4 separate regions of the Homo sapiens genome follow, and regions 1, 2 and 4 are each linked to region 3. Evidence: promoter capture Hi-C in human tissues and cell types (Jung and others, 2019). All regions are on one chromosome and are shown on one strand. Each heading gives the region's core, a stretch centred on a gene start or on the middle of the fragment in contact. The rest is flanking DNA. Distances are from core to core; before and after follow the strand shown.

Evidence for each region. The method cuts DNA at HindIII sites, captures the fragments that hold promoters and counts their contacts. A contact is called where the count stands out against the background at its distance.
Region 1: the fragment with the promoter of PLIN5 here is called in contact with the fragment with the promoter of EBI3 in region 3 in 1 of the 25 tissues and cell types used here (dorsolateral prefrontal cortex).
Region 2: a contact is called between the fragment with the promoter of PLIN4 here and the fragment with the promoter of EBI3 in region 3, in 2 of the 25 tissues and cell types used here (heart right ventricle and pancreas).
Region 4: a contact is called between the fragment with the promoter of DAPK3 here and the fragment with the promoter of EBI3 in region 3, in 3 of the 25 tissues and cell types used here (dorsolateral prefrontal cortex, psoas muscle and small bowel).

The regions. Positions count from the first base shown.
Region 1 is chr19:4,533,974-4,537,142 of GRCh38, reverse strand. PLIN5 (perilipin 5) reads left to right here and starts at 1,919. Exons shown (of 8, transcript NM_001013706.3): 1 at 1,919-1,978; 2 at 3,048-3,128. The coding sequence starts at 3,069. LRG1 (leucine rich alpha-2-glycoprotein 1) reads left to right here. Exons shown (of 2, transcript NM_052972.3): 2 at 1-741. RefSeq lists an enhancer at 2,213-2,768. The HindIII fragment of the contact is 58,476 bases long and covers 1-3,169 here.
Region 2 is chr19:4,517,003-4,519,794 of GRCh38, reverse strand. PLIN4 (perilipin 4) reads left to right here and starts at 1,309. Exons shown (of 8, transcript NM_001367868.2): 1 at 1,309-1,410; 2 at 1,506-1,573; 3 at 2,097-2,241. The coding sequence starts at 1,523. The HindIII fragment of the contact is 33,356 bases long and covers 1-2,792 here.
Region 3 is chr19:4,227,754-4,230,887 of GRCh38, reverse strand. It overlaps EBI3 (Epstein-Barr virus induced 3), which reads right to left and starts at 1,365. Exons shown (of 5, transcript NM_005755.3): 1 at 1,271-1,365. The coding sequence starts at 1,337. RefSeq lists enhancers at 1-92, 1,056-1,145. The HindIII fragment of the contact is 27,598 bases long and covers 1-3,134 here.
Region 4 is chr19:3,969,610-3,972,590 of GRCh38, reverse strand. DAPK3 (death associated protein kinase 3) reads left to right here and starts at 1,492. Exons shown (of 9, transcript NM_001348.3): 1 at 1,492-1,670; 2 at 2,762-2,917. The coding sequence starts at 2,856. RefSeq lists silencers at 1,508-1,637, 2,626-2,920 and enhancers at 1,809-2,440, 2,441-2,981. The HindIII fragment of the contact is 13,824 bases long and covers 1-2,981 here.

The sequences.
Region 1 (3,169 bases), core at 670-3,169, 310 kb before region 3:
GGAAAAGAGGCATGGCCCAGGCCCTGGGGTGTGGGATATGGTCTCCCTAGGGGATGACAGTTGGGATCAATGGCCTGTGACTTCTCCTCTCCCTTCCCCCATCCTGGGACCTAACTGGAAATAAAACCTTGACTGTTGCCCGGGTGTCATTTTACCAGTGGATTTCTGCCAGGGCTTGTGTCCTAGGAGAAGGTTTAAGTTAAACCAGATTGCCCAGGTCTCCAAACGATTTGTCATGCTGACCTGAGATCATCGAAGGGGGCACCTGCCCCCGGGCAAGGTTGCAGGGGCAGGATGGGGCTGAAGGGATGAGCAGGGTCCCGGGCCCACCTGCTGATACAGCATTGGCCATGTGGGGGCTGCAATCGGATTTGGAAGACCCTGGGGCTTGGGGGCATGTCCAGTTTTCCCAGCTCCCTAAAAAATGACCATGCAGCCTGGCGCCGTGGCTCATGCCTGTAATCCAAACACTTTGGGAGGCTGAGGCAGGCAGATCACCGGAGGTCAGGAGTTCGAGACCAGACTGGCCAACATGGCAAAACCCTGTCTCTACTAAAAATACAAAAATTAGCCAGGCACAGTGGCACGTGCCTGTAATACCAGCTACTTGGGAGGGTCAGGCAGGAGAATCACTTGAACCTGGGAGGCGGAGGTTGCAGTGAGCCAAGATCACGCCACTGCACTCCAGGCTGGGCGACAGAGTGAAACTGTGTCTCAAAAATAAAAATAAAAATAAAAAGACCATGCCTACATCTGTGGTCATTCCAGGCAAGGCAATGAAAAGGCAGGGTTCTGAGGTCCAGCAGGGCTGGGTTTGAATAGGATCCCTGGCCGGGCACGGTGGCTCATGCCTGTAATCCTAGTACTTTGGGAGGCCAAGGCAGGCAAATCACGAGGTCAGGAGTCCAAGACCAGCCTGACGAATATGGTGACACCCCGTCTCTACTAAAAATACAAAAATTAGCTAGGTGTGGTGGCAGGCGCCTGTAATCCCAGCTACTCCGGAGGCCGAGGCAGGAGAATCACTTGAACCCAGGGGGCGGAGGTTGCAGTGTGTCAAGATCGCGCCACTGCACTCCAGCCTGGGCGACAGAGTCAGACTCTGTCTCAAAAAAAAAAAAAGAAAAAAAAGGAATAGGATCCCTCACTTGCTGTGGTATGCGGGGCAAGTGTTTTATGATCTCTGAGCCTCAGCTTGCTCATCTGTGAAATGGGGATCCTAGGGAAAGGGAAGGCCTGGCTTCTGGCTTAGTTAAGGGGCAGATTAAGAAATAAAAAGAGGCTGGGTGCAATGGCTCACACCTGTAATCCCAGCAATTTGGAAGGCTGAGGTGGAAGGATCACTTGGGGCTCAGGGGTTGAAGACAAGCCTGGTCAACACAGGGACATCTCGTCTCTACAAAAAGTTTAAAAAGTTAGCTGGGGGTGGTGGTGTGTGCCTGTGGTCCCAGCTACTTAGGAGACTGAGGCGGGAGGATCACCTCAGCCTGGGAGGGCAAGGCTGCAGTGAGCTATGATCACACCACTGCACTCTAGCCCTGGGCAACCGAGCAAGACCCAGTCTCAAAAATCGATAAATAATAATAATTAATAAGAAAAGTCATCAGCGAGTTGGCCAAGGTCACTCAGCAGGGCTATGGGGGCTGTGATCGCATGGACTGTCTCTATGGCAACAGCAGTGAGGATGACAGGTGGCCAAACTTGGTCCGGGAACGTATAATAGCTCAATCTTTTGAATCTAGCGCTCCCGAATTACTATGGCAACCGTAGGGCACTGGGCCAGCTCAAGGAGAGGGCGAGGGAAGCCTGGAGCCACGCCCCCTGGGCACGCCCCCGCACGGCCTCTCCCCATTGGTCAGTTCCGGAGGCCCCCACTGCGCGAGCAGCTATAAGAAGGGCGGGCGGGACCGGCGGGGGTGTGGAGACTCGAGCCTGGGGTCGGCGGAGACAGCTGGTGTCTGAAGCCGCTCGCGCCCAGGTGAGTGCCCTGAGGGCGGCGTCCGGGAGCGCCCCCCCGGGCTTAGGAGAGGAGCTCCAGATAGGGTGGTTGGGCGAAGGTCCGGCGGCGTGGGACGGGTATGACCGGCCAGAGCAGGTGGCTGGGACCCTTGGCCCGGTTGGCCCCAGCTCAGGACCCAGTTGGGCGAGGACCAGGCCTCAGAGGACGCGGGGTGGCAACCGGAGGGATCGCAGGCGGCAGGTCTGAGGCCCGAGGTCGAGCTCCCCCCCTGTAACTCTAGCTGGCTGCGTGACCTTGGGACCAGCATGGACCTGCTGCGTACCTCAGTTGCCCTGTCTGTCAAATGAGCTGTGAGTGGACTGGGACCCAGCAGCTACCACCTCCAGCCGTCTAGGGTGCTTGGGCAGTTCTGGGCCCAGGCAGGGGCCGCAGGGGTAGCAGGGACCTCCCACATCTTACAAAACAGGAAGCAGCCCAGAGAGGTGAAGGTGCTTGCCAAAAATCACACAGCTGGCCAGGTGCAGTGTCTCATGCCTGTAATCCCAGCACTTTGGGAGGCCGAGGTGGGCAGATCACTTGAGCCCAGGAGTTTGAGACCAGCCTGGGCAACATGGCGAAACCCGGTTTCTACTAAAAATACAAAAATTAGCCGAGCATGGTGGCACGTGGGTAATCCCAGCTAACTGGGAGGCTGAAGCAGGAGAATCACTTGAACCTGGGAGGCGGAAATTGCAGTGAGCTGGGATGGCGCCACTGCTCTCCAGCCTGGGCGAGAGAGATTCTGTCTTTAAAAAAATAATAAAAATAACACCGCAATTAATGGTAGCATTTGAACCCAGGTCTTTCTCACCTCAGAGACCATGCTTCGAGTCACTCCGGCAACCCTACCTTGCCAGAGGCTCATTATTGGACACCCTCTGTGTACAGAGCTCTGGACATGCATTGTCTGAGCTCCACAGAATGCCCCATTATGCAGATGAAGAAACTGAGGCCCCAAGAGGTTTGAGAGTTGCTCAAGTCACAGAGCCCAATTTGACAGGATCTGATGCCTGGGCAGGTGCTCCCCTTACTCAATCCTGCCCCGCAGGGTGACCCTGTTTGCAGCACGATGTCTGAAGAAGAGGCGGCTCAGATCCCCAGATCCAGTGTGTGGGAGCAGGACCAGCAGGTGAGGGCTGCCCCTCCCATGGAGCAGGGACAGAAGGTATT
Region 2 (2,792 bases), core at 60-2,559, 290 kb before region 3:
GAAGGGGAGGGGCACCCAGAGCTCTCCCAGCCACCCTTGGGAAGCACTGGCTGGTAGAAGAGGTTGGGGGACACCCCCCCTTCTGTTCCCCCACTGTTTGGCAAACACAGTGTCGGCTCCAAGGAGACAGACGGCCTGGGAATCATCAGATCCTGTGGCTGTACCCTCCCTCCTCCCAGCCCAGTGCCCAGAGCCACCCATGGGGTCTGCCCTCTCACCCCCAATAACACAGGGCTAGGAACCCTGTCTCAGGGGCAGGTAGGAGGGGGACACAGCCCAGGGTGGGCGTTACGGCCATTCCTCTGCCCACCCACCCACAGACAGCCCAGCACATAGGCTGGGCTCAGCACGAAGGTCCTGGGTCTGGGTTTGAATCCCGTCCTCACCACTTCCTGGAACAGGAGGGTCTGGGTTTGAATCCCATCCTCACCACTTCTGGAACAGGACGCCTCCTCCAGGGAGCCTCCCTGGGTTGGCCCAAGCCCCCCAGGCTGGGTTTCCACTCCTAGGGTGCCCCCAGCTTGGCTGGTGCTCCATCTTGGTCTGCGTTTTGGCCCAAGTCCCTTCCGGAGAGTGATGGGCTCCCCTCCACACTGAGGACACCCCCTGCTCCTTGCCGAGACCCCGAGACCCCGCTTCTGCCTGGGTAACGCGAAGGCAGCATTTGTTCAGTGCATGACCTCATCTCACAGAGGCTCACAACCACTCTCTGTGTTGCTCCATTGAGCCAAACGTGTATTAAGCGCCAAATGTATGCCAGGCACTGTTCTGTGGGCGGAAGAGGGTGCCCTGTGGGAACCTGCAGGGAAGGTGTTCCAGGCAGAGGGCACAGCCCGTGCAGAGGCCCTAAGGCAGGACCGTGCCAGGTGCGCTGGAGGCATAGCGAGGAGGCCTGTGTGGCTGGGATGAAGCAAGCGAAGGAGGAAGCTGGGGGAGATGAGAGCAGAGAAGAAGCTGGATGTTACGGGACGTGGTGCGGAGTACGAGAGAGAAACCTGAAGCAAAAAGATGGTAACTGGCCAAGGCATCCTGGTGCAGCAGAGATTTGAACTACACCCACCTCGTGGATGGAACTGGAGGCTCAGGGGCCCGGGAGGGGAGCCCATCTGGCCTGTGAGCCACTCAGCCTGATGCAAGCTGTGGGCAGGAAACAGGGGAAAGGTGCTGGGCCTGGGCCCATGCTGGGCTGGGCAGGTAGCCATGTGACCGTCCAGGCCACCTCCCCCGGGCCCATTGGCCGCCTGCCGCTGCTGGCTGGGCCTGCGCCTGCCCCGGACCCTATAAGGCCAGGGAGCTGAGGGTAGAGCCAGCTGCCAGCCGGGCCGGTCCGTCCTCCAGGGGACCCCGCGCAGTCCAGGTGAGCGGGGCCGCGTCTGCTTCGGTGACACCAGGGTGAGGCCAGGCCTGCAGGTGGGTGTCGGGCTGCTCAGGCTTTCAGTGGGGAGTGGGTGTGGGATGGGAGGCTAGGGAACCCCCATTCACGCACCTTCTCTGCCCCCTTCCAGCTTCTCACGTTCTCACTATGTCTGCTCCAGACGAAGGGAGACGGGATCCCCCCAAACCGAAGGGCAAGGTAAAGAGGGGAAATGGGGCAGATTCTTGCTGGGGCCTGGAGATGCCCCAGAGCCGGGGAAGGTGACCTCCACAGTCCTGGGGTCTCGAATCTGGAGAGGTGCTTCCCTGGTGGGCTGGTGGGGGCGGTCTGGGAGCCATGATGCCAATCCCTTCCTTTCTGACCCAAGCTGGAGGCGGGGGACCCACGCAGACCTCGACACCTTCCCCAGCAAGTGACCTTGGGCCGGCCTCAGCTCCGCCCCTCTCTGAGCCTCAGTTTCCCCATCTGTGCAGTGGGGATCCTGGAAGGAAAAGGTCTTTGGAGATCGGGTAGACGATCTTTTCCTCTGTGCATGGGAGGCAGGCTGAGTCTGCCCATTGCCCAGGTGTGGAAATTGAGGCTGAGTGGCTGAAACACTTTCCTGAGGTCACCCAGGAGCAAGGGGCCGGGGCGGCATTGGGCTGATCAATCGATGCTTCCTCTGACCCGTTCCTGCCGAGGCTTGGCCTGCTCATCCTGCACACCCCCCGCCCCCATGCAGACCCTGGGCAGCTTCTTTGGGTCCCTGCCTGGCTTCAGCTCTGCCCGGAACCTGGTGGCCAACGCACATAGCTCGGCGAGAGCCCGGCCGGCCGCTGACCCCACAGGAGCGCCTGCTGCCGAGGCTGCCCAACCACAGGCTCAGGGTGAGTGGCTGGCCCAGCTGGGGGCGTGGGGGGACTCTACACATGGACCTGGGAGAAGGAGCTCCCCGGGCAGGGACTTCCAGCCATTTGGGGAGTCCTCCATATTTGTCTGTGTGCTCTCATCAGACACTAGGACATCTTGTGGTGGATGGGGAAACTGAGGCATAAATATGGGGGGTGAGTGGCCGAAGGTGGCTTTCAACCCAGCCTGTCTCCCTGCAATGCCCCCCCACTCAGTCCCTCGGCCGTTCCCCCACCCTGCACTCCGTTTCTGATGCACCATGGCCCAGGCTGGGTGCTCTGCCCATCTGAGCTCATCAGAGTGAGATCCAGACTCCCAGGGAGGAGCAACAGCTCCCCTGGGGTCACACAGCCCAGGGGCTCCCCAGCCTCCTGTGGCTCAGCTTGGGCGATCAGGGACGGTGACAGGGAACCCAGGGTTGGGGCAGCCGCCTGAGCTGGGCCTCCCTCTGGGCCCAGAGCCCCAGGCAGCTGACTTCTGCTCCACATGCCTTGGCCTGGCAATAGGCAGCAGGCAGCTGCGGTGGGGG
Region 3 (3,134 bases), core at 116-2,615:
TTTTTTTTTTAAAGAGGGAGTCTCCCTCTGTCGCCTAGGCTGGAGTGCAGTGGCGAGATCTCGGCTCACTGCCACCCCCGCCTCCCGGGTTCAAGCGATTCTTAGCCTCCCGAGTAGCTGGGATTACAGGCATGTACTGCCACGCTTGGCTAATTTTTGTATTTTTAGTAGAGAGGGAGTTTCACCATGTTGGCCAGGCTGGTCTCAAACTCCTGACCTCAGGTGATCCACCTGCCTTGGCCTCCCAAAGTGCTGGAATTACAGGCGTGAGCCACCAAACCCAGCCTATAAATTATTATTATTATTATTATTTTGAGACAAGGTATCCCACTCTGTCACCTAGGCTGGAATGCAGTGGCACAATCATAGCTCACTGCAGCCTCCAATTCCTGGGCTCAAATTATCCTCCCACCTCAGCCTCCCAAGTAGCTGGGACTACAGGCACGTGCCACCACATCTAGCTAATTTTTTAATTTTTTGTACAGATTGGTGGGGTCCGGTTTCACTATGTTGCCCAGGCTGGTCTCGAATTCCTGGCCTCACGATCCTCACGCCCTGGCCTCCCAAAGTGCTGGAATTACAGGCATGAGCCACCATGCCCTGCTGTAACCATTTTGTCTTCAAGGACATGGAGATGTTCTCTAGTGCAAAATGAATGAATGTCGGCCGGGCGCGGTGGCTCACATCTGTCATCCCAGCACTTTGGGAGCCCGAGGTGGGTGGATCACCTGAGGTCAGGAGTTCAAGACCACCCTGGCCAACATGGTAAAACCCTATCTCTACTAAAAATATAAAAAGTAGCCGGGCATGGTGGCGGGCACCTGTAATCCCAACTACTCGGGAGGCTGAGGGAGGAGAATCTCGCTTGAACCCAGGAGATGGAGGTTTCAGTGAGCTGAGATGGTGCCACTGTACTCCAGCCTGGGCGACAGAGTGAGACTCTGTCTCAAAAAACAAAACCAAAAAGAAACCAAAGGAATGAGTGTGACTCAAATTCGCATGTCTGTGTAGCTATGTCTGTGTAGCTCTATGGATACCTCTGAGCTGTGACTGCCAGTCCCTATCACCCACAAGGTGACATCCTTCCACCCCCAATGTGGCACTCTGCCTCTCTGTGCCTCAGTTCCTCCATCTGTACAATGGGAGGGTAACCCCATCCCACCATTGGGCACGGGAGGATGTGATTTCCCACCCCAGACATGATCCGAGGCCAGTCCTCGTGTCATGTCCGTCTGCCTGGGCCCCCCAGTCCCCCAGGGGCCCCACATACCTTTCCTTCCACTGCAGGGCGGGCAGCTGGCCCAGAGGACAAGGGCCAGGAGAAGCTGCGGGGTCATGGCTGCGGCCAGCTCTGCTCTCAGGAGTGGGTGGGAACGTCGTGGGAGACTTGAGAGGGGAGGTGAGGACTTGGGACCTGCCCAGGGGAAAGCCCAGCCCAGGGTCAAGGCCCGCCCCCTCCCCGACTTCCTTCAGGTCTGACTCACTGGTGGGGCTCGTGGGGCCGCTAGGGAGATGAATTAGGGTGTGGAGGAGCCCCAGCCCCCTGGGGAGCACAGGCCACCCCTGCTCGGAAGGCCCCGAGGGTGGGGGCGGGGGAGGAGGCTGTGAAAGGGAGAAGTGGAGACCTGCTGGCTTTTCCCAGCACAGCATGTCCTGCTGGCCTTCCTTCCGCTGCCCTGAAGCGGGGGAAACCCCAGGCAGGCAGGCAGGGGCTCAGGGACATGGAGGGAGACAGAGGCAGAGATGGGGGAGAGAGGCAGAGAGACAGAGAAGACAGAAGGAAGACACAGAGAGACAGGGAGATGACAGAGACAGAGACACAGAGAGAGACACAGATGAGAGAGGCAGAGAGACAGAGACAAGAAGAGGAGGACACAGAGATAGAGGGATACAGAGACAGGGAGATGACAGAGACAGAGACAGAGAGACACAGATGAAAGAGGCAGAGAGACAGAGACGAGAGGAGGAGGACACAGAGATAGACAGGGAGATGACAGAGAGACACAGAGACACAGATGAAAGAGGCAGAGAGAAAGAGACGAGAGGAGGAGGACACAGAGAGAGAGAGACAGAGACAGGGAGATGACAGAGACAGAGACAGAGAGAGACACAGATGAGAGAGGCAGAGAGAAAGACAAGAGGAAGAGGACAAAGAGATAGAGAGACAGGGAGACGACAGAGACAGAGAGAGATACAGATGAGAGAGACAGAGATGAGAGGAGGAGGACACAGAGATAGATAGAGACAGGGAGATGACAGACAGAGAAAGGGGCATGACAGAGACAGAAACACAGAGAGAGACACAGAGATGAGAAAGGCAGAGATGAGAGGAGGAGGACACGGAGATAGACAGGGAGATGACAGAGACAGAGACAGAGACAAAGATGAGAGAGTCAGAGAGACAGATGAGAGGAGGACACAGAGATAGAGGGATAGAGAGACAGGGAGATGACAGAGACAGAGAGAGCTACAGATGAGAGAGGCAGAGAGACAGATGAGAGGAGGACACAGAGATAGAGGGATAGAGAGACAGGGAGATGACAGAGAAAGTGACAGAGATACAGATGAGAGAGGCAGAGAGACAAATGAGAGGAGGACACAGAGATAGAGAGAGACAGAGACAGGGAGATGACAGAGACAGAGAGAGATACAGATGAGAGAGGCAGAGAGACAGAGACGAGAGGAGGAGGACACAGAGATAGAGAGACAGGGAGATGACAGAGACAGAGAAAGGGGGATGACAGAGACAGAAACACAGAGAGAGACAGAGATGAGAGGAGGAGGACACAGAGATAGATAGGGAGATGATAGAGACAGAGAGAGACAGGGGAATGAGAGAGACAGAGACAGAGATGAGAGGAGGAGGACACAGAGACAGAGAGAGACAGGGAGATGATGGAAACAGAAAGAGAAACACAGAGAGCAGACAGACAGAGGAAGAGAGACAGAGGGACAGAGATAAGAGAGGAAGACAGAGATAGGGAAATGAGAGAGACACAGAGACAGAGATAAGGGAGGAAGACAGAGAAAGAGAGACACAGATGGGAAGATGAGAGACAGAGACAGAGAGACAGAGATGAGAGAGTAGGATAGACAGAGATAGAGAGATGGTGGGGCACGGTGGCTCACGGCTG
Region 4 (2,981 bases), core at 243-2,742, 260 kb after region 3:
GTCTGTAATCGCAGCACTTTGAGAGGCCGAGGCCGGCGGATCACAGATATTGAGACCATCCTGGCCAACATGGTGAAACCCTGCGTCTACTAAAAATACAAAAATCAGCTGGGAGTGGTGGCGTGCACCTGTAGTCCCAGCTACTCGGGAGGCTGAGGCAGGAGAATCGCTTGAACCCAGGAGGCAGAGATTGCAGTGAGCCCAGATCTCACCACTGCGTTCCAGCCTGGACGATAGAAGGAGACTGTCTCAAAAAAAAAAAAAAAAAAAAAAAAAGGCTGGGCAAGGTGGCTCATGCCTGTAATTCCTGCACTTTGGGAGGCCGAGGCGGGCGGATCAGGAGGTCAGGAGATCGAGACCATCCTGGCTAACACGGTGAAACCCTGTCTCTACTAATAAATACAAAAAATTAGCTGGGCGTGGTGACGGGCGCCTGTAGTCCCAGCTATTCGGGAGGCTGAGGCAGGAGAATGGCGTGAACCTGGGAGGTGGAGCTTGCAGTGAGCCGAGATTGTGCCAGTGTACTCCAGCCTGGGTGACAGAGCGAGACTCCGTCTCAAAATAATAATAAAAAATGAATTTAGGCCGGGCGCAATGGCTCACGCCTGTAATCTCAGCACTTTGGAAAGCTGAGGTGCCGGATCACCTGAGCTTAGGAGTTCGAGACCAGCCTGGGCAACATGGTGAAACCCCGTCTCTACTAAAAATACAAAAATTAGCCGGGCGTGGTGATGGGCACCTGTAATCCCAGCTACTTGGGAGGCTGAGGCACGAGAATCGTTTGAACCCGGGAGGTGGAGGTTGCAGTGAGCTGGATACCGCCGCTGCACTCCTGCCTGGGTGACAGAGTGAGACCCTGTCTCAAAAAATAAAATTAAAAAAAAAACAAACCTGATACCTCCCAGTGTTGTCAGTTGGCACATACTATGTCTCAATAAAATGCTTGCTGTTACCCTCTATTTTGAGACGAAGAGGGACCCTGTGTATGACAACCCCAGATTGACCTCATTTGCATTTTAAGTATTTAGAATGTGGGTAACAGTTTTCAGTGGAGGAAACTGCCACATAGGGACTAAAGCAGTCCCAGGGTCCACTCCAGGAGCTGCCAGGCGCGCTCGGCCACAGGTGAGCCATCCATTCGCCCAACCGGTGCTCCAGGAAGGCAGGAAGCGGGATGCAGGGCTTCAGCCTCACTTCTCGCAGCTTCAGCACCTGGGTCAGAGGAGAGGCGGGCGGGGCGATGAAGGGACCGGAAGTCGGCCTTTTTTCCGTCCGCTTGACCAGCGTCGACTGCAGCCAATGAAATCAGGGATGGCGAGTGTTCAGCCAGTGGTGAGGCTGCATCCGGGTGTGGGTGCCGAAAAGGCAGCTGGGGGCGGGACGTCGAGGTGCGGCACGAGCGGCGGGCGCACCGGCCAATAGGCGGCGGGGTTCGTTTCCCGGGGGTGGGCACTGGCGGGTGCGGTGACGTCGGCGCAGGCGCGTCGCGGCGGCAGGGGCGCGGGGCTTCTGGAGGCGGCGGCGGTGGCCAGCGCGGCGGCGCCGGCCGTATTCTCCGGGCTGCGGAGGGTAAAGAGCGGGCTCGGGCCGAGGCTGGAGGGCTGGGTGGGGCCAGAGCGGCGCTTCGGGGGCCCGCGGAGGACGAGGGAGGGAGAGAATCTGAGGAGCTGGTAGGTTTGGGGACCCATCTGGGTGACCGGGCCGGGGAAAGGGCTCGGCCGGGCGTGCGAGGGGCGTAGCGGCCCCAGGGATGCTGGAGCGGAGCCTTAGGGATGGGCAAGGCCTTGGGGGCGGGGGGAGGTTCTGCAAAGGGAGCCACTGGGGTCTGCCTAGGGGCTTGTGCGGAGATTGCGGGCGAGAAGGGGCAGAGGACGGTGGAGGAGACTCAGATGGGGCCCTTTTTGGCGGCCCGTTTTGGGGGGTAGGGGAGACGGCGGTTGGGGGACTTTGATACATGGAGCGTGGAGGAAGAGGTTAATCTTGCGAGGACAGTGGAGGTCAGCGGGGGAGGGAGGCAAAGTGGGCTTTCAGGAGCGTGGAAGGCGTCGTCCGGTTCTTGGAAAATTCAGAATTGGAGGGAGTCAGAGATGGTTGGGGGTGGGCGGGGGTGTTCCATCGATGAGGGTCTTAAGAGACCTGCCGAGGGCAAGGACCAGGAGGGGTTAAGGTAGTAACTTGGGAATTTTGATCGGAATGGCAGCACTTTGGGAGGCCTGGGACGATCGCTTGAGCCTTGGAGTTCCAGGCTGCAGTGAGCCATGATTGCACCACTGCACTCCAGCCAGGGCGACAGAGCGAGACTCCTTCTCAAAAAACAACAACACCAACAACAAAAGAAGTAGACTTGAGAACTTCGTTAAGACATTGGCCAGGGAGTAAGGTAGCCCTGGGATTTGAGGTTGAGGAGAACGTGCAGGAATGGTGGGGGATTTTGGCTGAGCAGGTTGAGAGAAGTCTAGGAGTGAGAGGCAAAAAAAGACGCAGGCAGCGTCGGGGAAATCAGAATTATGTGTCTGGAGAGAGTTTTGCGGGGTGAAGGTGGCCCAGTGGGGCTGTTACCAAACTTTTGAGTGGTTATGGGGCTCTAAGAGGTGACATGACAGGACCCAGCCCAGTAAACACAGCACCTCTTTTTGTCGAGTTTGGAGCTTCAGAGTGGAGAGGTGGGAGGCTTGTGTTTGCTGGACAGGTCTGTCCATTAATCTAGGAGAAAAGGGTGGTGTCTCAGTTCCTCACTTCTGTCTTTCCCTGTCTTCTCCAGGGTTGCCATTAGGGGACTCCTGAGGTCCTATCTCCAGGCTGCGGTGACTGCACTTTCCCTGGAGTGGAAGCTGCTGGAAGGCGGACCGGCCGCCATGTCCACGTTCAGGCAGGAGGACGTGGAGGACCATTATGAGATGGGGGAGGAGCTGGGCAGGTGAGCTGTCTGCCCGCACGGCTGGGCTCCAGGGATAGGAGAGAGGCGCTGTGGGGTTTTCTGA